Regions from separate parts of the Homo sapiens genome. Here region 2 is linked to region 1. The links are contacts of gene promoters, found by promoter capture Hi-C in human tissues and cell types (Jung and others, 2019). All regions are on one chromosome and are shown on one strand. The core of a region is centred on a gene start or on the middle of the fragment in contact, and the rest is flanking DNA. Distances in the headings are between cores, read along the strand shown.

The links. The method cuts DNA at HindIII sites, captures the fragments that hold promoters and counts their contacts. A contact is called where the count stands out against the background at its distance.
Region 2: a fragment that was not itself captured here is called in contact with the fragment with the promoter of HPX in region 1 in 1 of the 25 tissues and cell types used here (heart left ventricle).

Annotation. Positions count from the first base shown.
Region 1 is chr11:6,439,614-6,443,946 of GRCh38, reverse strand. HPX (hemopexin) reads left to right here and starts at 2,960. Exons shown (of 10, transcript NM_000613.3): 1 at 2,960-3,066; 2 at 3,217-3,275; 3 at 3,409-3,480; 4 at 3,661-3,782. The coding sequence starts at 2,984. RefSeq lists an enhancer at 523-592. The HindIII fragment of the contact is 2,516 bases long and covers 681-3,196 here.
Region 2 is chr11:6,704,981-6,709,997 of GRCh38, reverse strand. No RefSeq gene overlaps it. Among named protein-coding and RNA genes, the nearest start is that of MRPL17, 24 kb to the right of the region's middle. The HindIII fragment of the contact is 5,616 bases long and covers 1-5,017 here.

The DNA of each region.
Region 1 (4,333 bases), core at 1,711-4,210:
CTGTCATTTGCAGACATTTGCAGGTTCGTGTTCAGACCCCTTCTGGGAGAAGTAAAAAAGCTGCTGGTTAGGAGGATAGAGAAGACTACCCAGGAAAAGAGATGGTTGAATTTCTCTGGGCTCGAGTTCCCAGAGAAGCAAGAGATTGAGGTCCCCAAATCCACTCTGGGCAGCAAGGTTTGCAGAAGAAGGGAAAGAAGCATAGAAGGGTGTGTACCACTAAGGATGCACAGCCAGGGCTGAGAGGAGTGTGGGACAAAGGCTGTGGAGAGCTAGTTTCAGAGAGGAAAAACTCCTGGGCTCTGGCCTCTAGTTGAAGGGCGGGAGTGCACTGATTCCTGCGGCCTGCAGGGGGTGCTCAGGCCCAAGTACCGACAAGCTTCTTTCCTCAGCCCCAGTAGGAAGCCTGGGAAGGACCCAGGACCCACAGAAGGGGCCTCCTGTAGTGAGGGGAAGAGAAGCAAGGCTGCTGAGTCTTGACTACCCTGAGAAGTCTTGGCTTGTACCCTGTGACCAACACCAGGGTGGCCAACATATCCACAGCCCTGGGTTCCCAAATGTGTACAATGTTCTACTTTCAACTCCTGCCCAAAACTTGAACTTCAACCTGGACTGCCTGCAGTGCAGATGACTCTGCTGGCCTAGTCCCTGGGTGGAGCAGGAGGATCCAGTAATGGTTTCTAAGCCATTCTCGGGTACACAGGTGAATTAGGAAGCAACAGGGAAAAGGGACCATAAAGTAGTATTCTGGGATAGATGGATCCGGGGTGCTGTGAGGGGGACCACACCAGGTGTGTGGGGAAGGGGTCAAGCTGAAAAATGATCATCCAGTATATGTGCTGTATGCCCTCAGACAGCCCTGTTAGGCCAGAAGGAGACTGCACCCTTGGACTGGCAAGTCAGTGCAAGGCCCTGCTAATAGGACTATTGAAGACTCTCACTATGGGTTTTCTGTGGGGTGTTTGTTTCTTGGGGTGAAAGCTTCCCTCTCCCCAGGCAGGCCCAGCAAAATCTGTAGGATTCAGACAGGGTTCTGACAGCTGAAGACAAGTTGTTGAGGAAATTCCTGATGGAGGATCATGGGGTGCTCAGGAGGGAGAATATAAGGTTTCAGAGGCTGAGAGGGAAAGAAAAGGTGAGGGGGAGTCTTAGAATAGTGGCTCCCATTGCCCAACACCCAGAAAGAAGACATGCCCTGCAATGGGGAGAAGGTGAGTATGAGACATTGGCTGTAGCAGCGATGGCATTGCCCAGGCTGCCAAGGACTCAGAGAGTCCAGCCTTGCCCACTGACCTATGAGGAGGGAATGATGTTCACAGCACATTTTCATTCGTAAGTCAGGAGAGGACATTGAGCCTGATGGCAGAGGCCTGGTGACATGTTGTTCCAGAGGTTCCGGAATGTGTGTTTTCCTGTTGGAAGGAAACTTCGCAGAGTAGAAAAGGGATCTGAGACTTTTGGTAAGATTATATATGGGACTGTCAGGGGTCTGGAGCCATCTGTGAGGGATCAGGGCCCTTTCAGCCTTGGCTAGGGAGCAGGGGTCCTGGAACTTCATCCTGGCCCATAGCTGAGTCTGCCCATAATTCTTTTCTGACTCACTAGGCAAATCTCACACAGAAATGGGGCAGCTTTGGGAGTGGGCCCAGGAAGTACTGAGGATAGCAGGTGAGATCCCAGGAAGAGATGGATGTGGGGCCGAGACACTGGAGAGAGAAACAGGACTGTCAGATAAAGGGCGTCTGTGACTCCTAGATCTCATTATGCCTACTACCATAACCTACCCCCAATTCCTAATATTCTCCTACCCTAGAGGGGGGGAAATTGTCAGAAATTTGGCTGCAACACTAGCAACACTACTCAGTACTTGAAATGCATTTTTGCATTTTTTTCATTCAACAAATATTTCTGGAACAACTCTTATATGCCAGGCACTATTTTAGGAGTCAGGGATATATAATGGTAAACAAGACAGGCAAAACAAAGCAAAGCAACAACAACCATCACCAGATAAGTAGACAGATGAAAGAATTTCAAGTTTTAGTAAGTAAAATAAAACAAGCAAGGGTCTGAAATGGCTAGATAAGGTGGTCAAGAAAGGCTTCATTGAGAAGGTAGCATTTAAGCAGGAGTCAGCTAGAAATATTGTGAAATTCCAGTTACAGTTCTATTTGTTCTGGGTTGGTTAAATAAAGCTTTTTCCCCCAAGGTGGAAACTACCAAGAAAGACTAATTACTAGTAGTGGTGGTGCTCTCTGGAAGAGAGACACCTCCTGTTTCTGCCTCATTACTGTCAACCCTTCACTTCCAGGCACTTTTTGCAAAGCCCTTTGCCAGTCAGGGAAGGCGAGAGGCTGGGCATGGGGCTTGGACATTTGACAACAGTGAGACATTATTGTCCCCAGACTCACTAGCCCAAGGGTAAAGCTGAAGAGGCTTGGGCATGCCCCAGAAAGGCCCCTGATGAAGCTTGGAAAAAGCTGTTCTCTGAGTATTTCTAAGTAAGTTTATCTGTGTGTGTGGTTACTAAAAGTAGTAAGTATTGCTGTCTCTAGCTGCCTTAGAGCAGGGCTTGACACAGTACACAGCAATATTAGTTCCCTCCTTTTCTCACCTCCCCCATTGTGGAGATAAACTCAATCACAAAAGGTGATCCTCAGTCTACTCACTTCCCTGACTTATGGATGCCTGGACCCATTGCCAGTGTGAGAGTCACAGCTGGACGTCAGCAGTGTAGCCCAGTTACTGCTTGAAAATTGCTGAAGGGGGTTGGGGGGCAGCTGCCGGGAAAAAGGAGTCTTGGATTCAGATTTCTGTCCAGACCCTGACCTTATTTGCAGTGATGTAATCAGCCAATATTGGCTTAGTCCTGGGAGACAGCACATTCCCAGTAGAGTTGGAGGTGGGGGTGGTGCTGCTGCCAACTCTATATAGGGAGTTCAACTGGTCACCCAGAGCTGTCCTGTGGCCTCTGCAGCTCAGCATGGCTAGGGTACTGGGAGCACCCGTTGCACTGGGGTTGTGGAGCCTATGCTGGTCTCTGGCCATTGCCACCCCTCTTCCTCCGTGAGTAAAGCTGGGACTAGAAGCGAAGGATTGAGTTCTGGGCTAGGGTAAGGTAGGGCCAGTTTTTAGGCCTCGGTCAAATTTGGGGTCAGGGGCTATGGGAAAGGGATCGGTCCCAATGGATCAAGATATCTATTTTGTTCTCCCTAGGACTAGTGCCCATGGGAATGTTGCTGAAGGCGAGACCAAGCCAGACCCAGACGTGACTGGTGAGGCCCTGACTCCCTAAGTCTGTCTTATCTGTCTGGTTGTGTCTCTGCATTTTATCACCTTCTGGTTTTTTTTTTTTTTTTTTTTTTTTTTTTTTTTTTTTACTTTGCCATCTCCCTACCTCCACCCCAGAACGCTGCTCAGATGGCTGGAGCTTTGATGCTACCACCCTGGATGACAATGGAACCATGCTGTTTTTTAAAGGTAGGAGGGACTGAGGTTAGGGCGTTTAGGACCTTAGACTTACTCTCCTTCACAAAGGGTGTCCCTGTCTGTGGGAGGTCTTAGGAATTATCTGATGGTATCACTGACAGCTTCTCTCAAGCTATCTCAGTAGGTCAAAGGTTTCTCACTGGGCCCCTCAGTGAGTGTGGGTTTTTTCAGGGGAGTTTGTGTGGAAGAGTCACAAATGGGACCGGGAGTTAATCTCAGAGAGATGGAAGAATTTCCCCAGCCCTGTGGATGCTGCATTCCGTCAAGGTCACAACAGTGTCTTTCTGATCAAGGTACTGCTGGGCCAAAATCAGGGCCAGGCTGGAAAGGGCTGGAATCGACACTGGGGACCCTTCCCCCAAATGGCCTTGGCATGGAGCCCATAGCAATAGGTAGCAGATTTCTTTCCCATGTGCCCTCCTTTCCTGTAAAAGCTTGGGCTAAGGGAGTGTGCATGCGTGTGGGCCTGGCAGGTGCACCATCCAGTGGCTGTTCTTCAGTCCTAGTCTTAGTTCTACACCGCTCTGCTGTACCTCACACTGCTGGCCATCCTTTTTTTCTCTGGCAATTGCTTCCCTTGCCTTCCATGACCCTGTATCAAGTCCTCTTCATAGGGCAAGGCAAGTTGTTCCCAACACAATGGCACCTGGCTAGAAGAGCATGTGGAGCATGAAATCCAGTCTGCTGTGCTCACCAAGTCCCATGTGACCCAGGCTGTGTCTGCTCAGAGGAAGGGGTGCCTTTTCCTACCTTGCCAAAGGTGCTGTGTGGTTGGGGAAGTCCTGACTGTCGGCTTTGTTTTCCCTCCTGCCTCTTTTCTCTCTCTTCTCAAATGTCTCATTCT
Region 2 (5,017 bases), core at 1,504-4,003, 270 kb before region 1:
GTTCTCAAGAAATCACACAAAAGATGGGAAAAAGGTAAATTGGGATAAAGCAAAGATGCCTGTGTAGAGATGGGGATTTCTGTGATAGAAGTGGAGAGAGTAGCGCTGCCATCAAGGTGGGGTTAGGATTGGAGAGGATTAGTGTCAGTGGGTTGGGTGGCACTGGGGCGAGAGACCTCAGGAGTCAGGAGGGATGAGATCATCAAGAAGGGGAGACACCTGCGTTCAAAATCCTCACTCTGTAAACATATTAGACCAGTCTTTCTAGTTCTAAGTTTGTACGATTATCAGATTTATTTATTTTGAGATGGAGTCTCACTCTGTTGCCCAGGCTGGAGTGCAGTAGTGGTGCGATCTCGGCTCACTGCAACCTCTGCCTCCCGGGTTCAAGTGATTCTCCTGCCTCAGCCTCCTGAGTAGCTGGGATTACAGGCGCATGCCACCACGCCTGGCTAATTTTTGTATTTTTAGTAGAGACGGGGTTTCACCATGTTGGTCAGGCTGGTCTCGAACTCCTGACCTCGTGATCCACCCGCCTCGGCCTCTCAAAATGCTGAGATTACAAGTGTGAGCCACCATGCCCGGCTGATTATCAAATTTATTTACTGATCTACTAATCATCATGGTACAAGTAATTCAAAATGAAAATATCATCTATTAACAAATTGTTTTGTGAAACCAAAAAAAAGGGGGGGGTGGTCAGGGGGAGACACTGGGTCTAGGTGCAGCTCACAGGATTAGAGGTAGCTAGAGTTATGACATTGGCAGGAACAGGGCTCTCATGGTCAGTGGAATGGGGCAGAGTCATTGCAAGTGGGAAACAGAGACATGGGAGTTGGGGATCACTTCAGTAGATTTAGGGATGTTCCAGTCAGTTAAAGCAGAGAACCAAGTACAGTGGGAAAGAAGGAGTCACAAGGCCTGTAGAAAAGGGAAGCAGGGTGATGGATTCTAGAACAACATCAAATCACATGAATAAGTTGTGAGTTACTTACATGTGGAATCTAAATTTGAAATCATAGAAGTAGAAAGTAGAATGTTTGTGGTCAGGTGCGGTGGCTCATGCCAGTAATCCCAGAACTTTGGGAGGTTGAGGCAGGCGGATCACATGAGGTCAGGAGTTGTAGACCAGCCTGGGCAGCACAGTGAAGCCCCATCTCTACTGAAAATACAAAAATTAGCCGGGTGTTGTGGCGGGCGCCTGTAATCCCAGCTACTCAGGAGGCTGAGACAGGAGAATCACTTGAACCTGGGAGGCAGAGGTTGCAGTGAGCTGAGATAGCTCTACTGCACTCCAGCTTGGGCGGCACATGGAGACTGTCTCAAAAACATAAAAAAATAAAAAGAAAAAAGAAGGAAAGTAGAATGTTTGTTACCAGAAGCTGGGATGGTGGGTGGGGGAAAGCAGAAGTGTAGGTCAAAGGGTACAAAGAGAGAGAGGAAGCAAGAAGAAGGTAATTCAAGATGAAGAAGCAGGTATAAGCCAAGTGTTGAGAGTTAGAAAATGCCAGCCTGTGAAAGCCAGGCTGTTAGTTGTGCGAAGGGCCTCCACTATTTACTACATGTATGACCTTGGATGAGTTAGTTAACCTGTCTCTGCTTCATTTCCTTCATACATAAAATGGTGCAACCTCAGTGAAGTGTTAAGAATAACGTGAAACAATACATATGCCTGAAACATGGTACACGTGCCAATAATGTTAGGTAGTAGCAATGCCAACAACAGCAGAAGCAGCAATAACCGCAGCAAAAGTCACGTTAATAGAAGTAATTATAGCATTTATTAACATTATTATTGCTATTATACTGAAATGTAGTTGTGGCTACACTCCATCTTAATTGTTAAGGTCCTGAAGAAGAGGGTCCAAGTTCTTTTTTTTTTTTTTTTTTTTTGAGATACAGTCTTGCTCTGTCGCCCAGGCTGGAGTGCAGTGGTGCAATCTCGGCTCACTGCAACCTCTCAGGCTCAAGCGATTCTCCTGCCTCAGCCTCCCGAGTGGCTGGGATTACAGGCACCTGCCACCACTCCCAGATAATTTTTATACTTTTTAGTAGAGAGGAGGTTTTGCCATGTTGGCCAGGCTGGTCTCAAACTCCTGACCTCAGGCGATCTGCCTGCCTCAGCCTCCCAAAGTGCTGGGATTACAGGTGTGAGCCACCACGCTGGGCCAGTCCAAGTTCTTTATTTTGACTGAAACAGTGTTTATAAATGTGCTTTCCTTATTGTTTCCTGTATCTATAGTTTATTTTCTCTGAATAGGATTTTTAAAATACAATAGAATTAAAATGTAAACCTCAAAAAAGGGGTGAGGAATGGAGGGAAGATATGTGAGTAGGCCAGGACAGAATGAGAGCGTCGTTGTGGGTTCCTGAGGCAACAGTTATCCAATGTCATTGTTATTTTTAATGAAATTCAAGGAATTTGCATTTATTCCAAATTGGAAAAGATGTGAACCAGGAACAACCTGCCTGACAGTTTATGTATCTTTGGCGATTTTCCTTTGAACCATGGGAAAAATCATGTTTATCTTGTAGTTTACATTGTAATTCTCATCCACTCCTCTGTGAAGACGTGGAACTGTGCCACCCAGAACCTCCTGCAAGAGAAGACTTGCTGCCCAACTGAGGGGAATGAAGTAAGCAGCCAGGCTTCAGCTGTCAGATCTTCCCAATCTGCCTCAATTGCAGGGAGCCCCTTCACCTGAGGTAATGCCCTTCCTGGGGTAGCCTGTATCCAGAGGCTGAGACAGAAAAGAAAGACCCAGCCATTGTAGCCTGACACAGGATGCTTTGTTGGTCTTCACTCTACAGAGCTCTCCACCAGGTTCAGGGAAGGTTTGTAAGGCCTGCATCACGGCTCAATGTCTTTCTCTGCCAAATCCTACTTTTGCCCCTTTTCTTCACAGGCGTTGATCCCTAATAAACATCTTGCCCTCCACACTGTTCTACCGTCTGCTCTTGGGGAAATCAACCTGCAACCTACTTCAAGGCATTGGTAGATATTGCTATGTCAAGATAGATTTGGACAATGGGGTGATGGATACTAAAGAGGTAGTGCAAAAAGAAAATGAGGGGCATACAACATTCTCCTCTTCCCAACACCTGTATGAAGAAAGCAGCATCCTTTTGAGGAGTGAGAGAATACAGATCTTTCAGAAGTGAGCAGCAGGCAGGAAAGTGGCCTACAGCCCTGTTGAGAGCAGCAGAGAGGAGCATGAGACATAGCTGCCAGATGGGAAATTCATTAGTAAGTGATCATTAGAAAACAGGAAACTGGTGGATGAAAATAAAAGAAGTAAAACTGATAAGCAAGTAAGAACAGATATTTCTTCTACGTGGCTTTCGAATTGGGGGTAGGAGGGGTGGAGTCAAGGAATGAAGCCTAGGCCTTGCAAATGCATCCCTTAGGAAAAGTGAAATGGAAGTAACGGTTACATCAAGCCAAAACAAGGAGCTTTGACTTGGTCCCACATGCTGCGATCTAGAATTGTTCCTGGCACAGCTAAAGCTTTATCATCCTATGTAATGGGGAGGCACCTATGGATGCAAGTAGAGATTACCCCCTTATATCAACCACATTAAATCCATAAAGTTTCCCCAAAGCCTTTCCTGCCTCAGCATCTAACTTCCTTCTTCTGAGTCTCTGGAGTCCCAGCGCGGCAGGAAAATGGAAATCATAATATAGCGTTCATAGATACAGAATGGCAGCGTCAGGAGCAACTACAGTTCTTAGTAAGAGCATCACAGACCCTCTCAGCCATGAATTAACTTGCTCTTTTTCTACCTCCCTTTGTAACTATAGCTACCCTTCTTAGGGCCTCCCATCTTTTTTCTGAGGCCCTAGTTTGGTTTCTGGCTGAAACTACATGGGAGTTGCAGGCACTTCTCTCACCACCAGATGGTGATAAAGAGCCTATCAGGATAATGAATTCTGAGATTTCCCAACTCCGGCATAGTTAACATTTAGAGCCAGATAATTTATTGTGGGAAACTCTCTGTGCGTTATAAGATGTCTAGTAGCACCTCTGGCCTCTATCCATTAAATGTGAGTAGCACTATTCACAGTTATGGCAACAAAAATGTCTCTAGACATTGTCAAATGTCCCTGAAACATTTGCATTGCCCCGGTGGAGAACCACTGTGAAATGAGGTGTTCAAGAGTTTTAAATAGGAGAAAGAAAATGAATGCAATTTTGATGAAATTTTTGAAAAGCTTTCTTATTTTTTACAATATTACATTTATTGAAAAAATTCAAAAATGTGGAAAAACATAAGAAAATCAGACACCCAAAATCCTGTCATCCAGATTAACTTTGGTGAACATTTTTATACTCATCCTTCTAGGCATATGGACACATAGTGGAAAACATACAATTTTGCATACATGGCAATGTATAATATATATACTCCAAAATTTCACTCATAAATGGCACTGCAGTTAACATACATCTTTGAACATAATTTTTTTTTTTGAGATGGAGTCTCACTCTGTCACACAGGCTGGAGTGCAGTGGCGCAATCTCGGCTCACTGCAACCTCTGCCTCCTGGGTTCAGGCGATTCTCCTGCCTCAGCCTCCCAAGTAGCTGGGATTACAGGTCCATGCCACTATGCCCAGCTAATTTTTGTATTTTTACTAGAGACGGGGTTTTGCCATGTTGGCCAGGCTGGTCTCGAACTCCTGACCTCAGGTGATCTGCCCACCTCAGCCTCCCAAAGTGCTGGGATTACAGGCATGAGCCACCATGCCCAGCCTGAACATACATCTTTGCACAGGTTGAGTGTGACAGTTTTTCACTCCACATTTCCTATATATCTACAATTTTGCCACGACAGGACCCAGAGCTTTACAAAGTAATTTGGACATAGATATTCTTCCAAAGATGTACAAAAACTGCTGGAAAGAATGTGAACATTCCCAGTGCAGTGGCTCATGCTGTCTCTACTAAAAATACAAAAATTAGCCAGGCATGGTGGCGGGTGCCTGTAATCCCAGCTACTCAGGAGGCTGAGGCAGG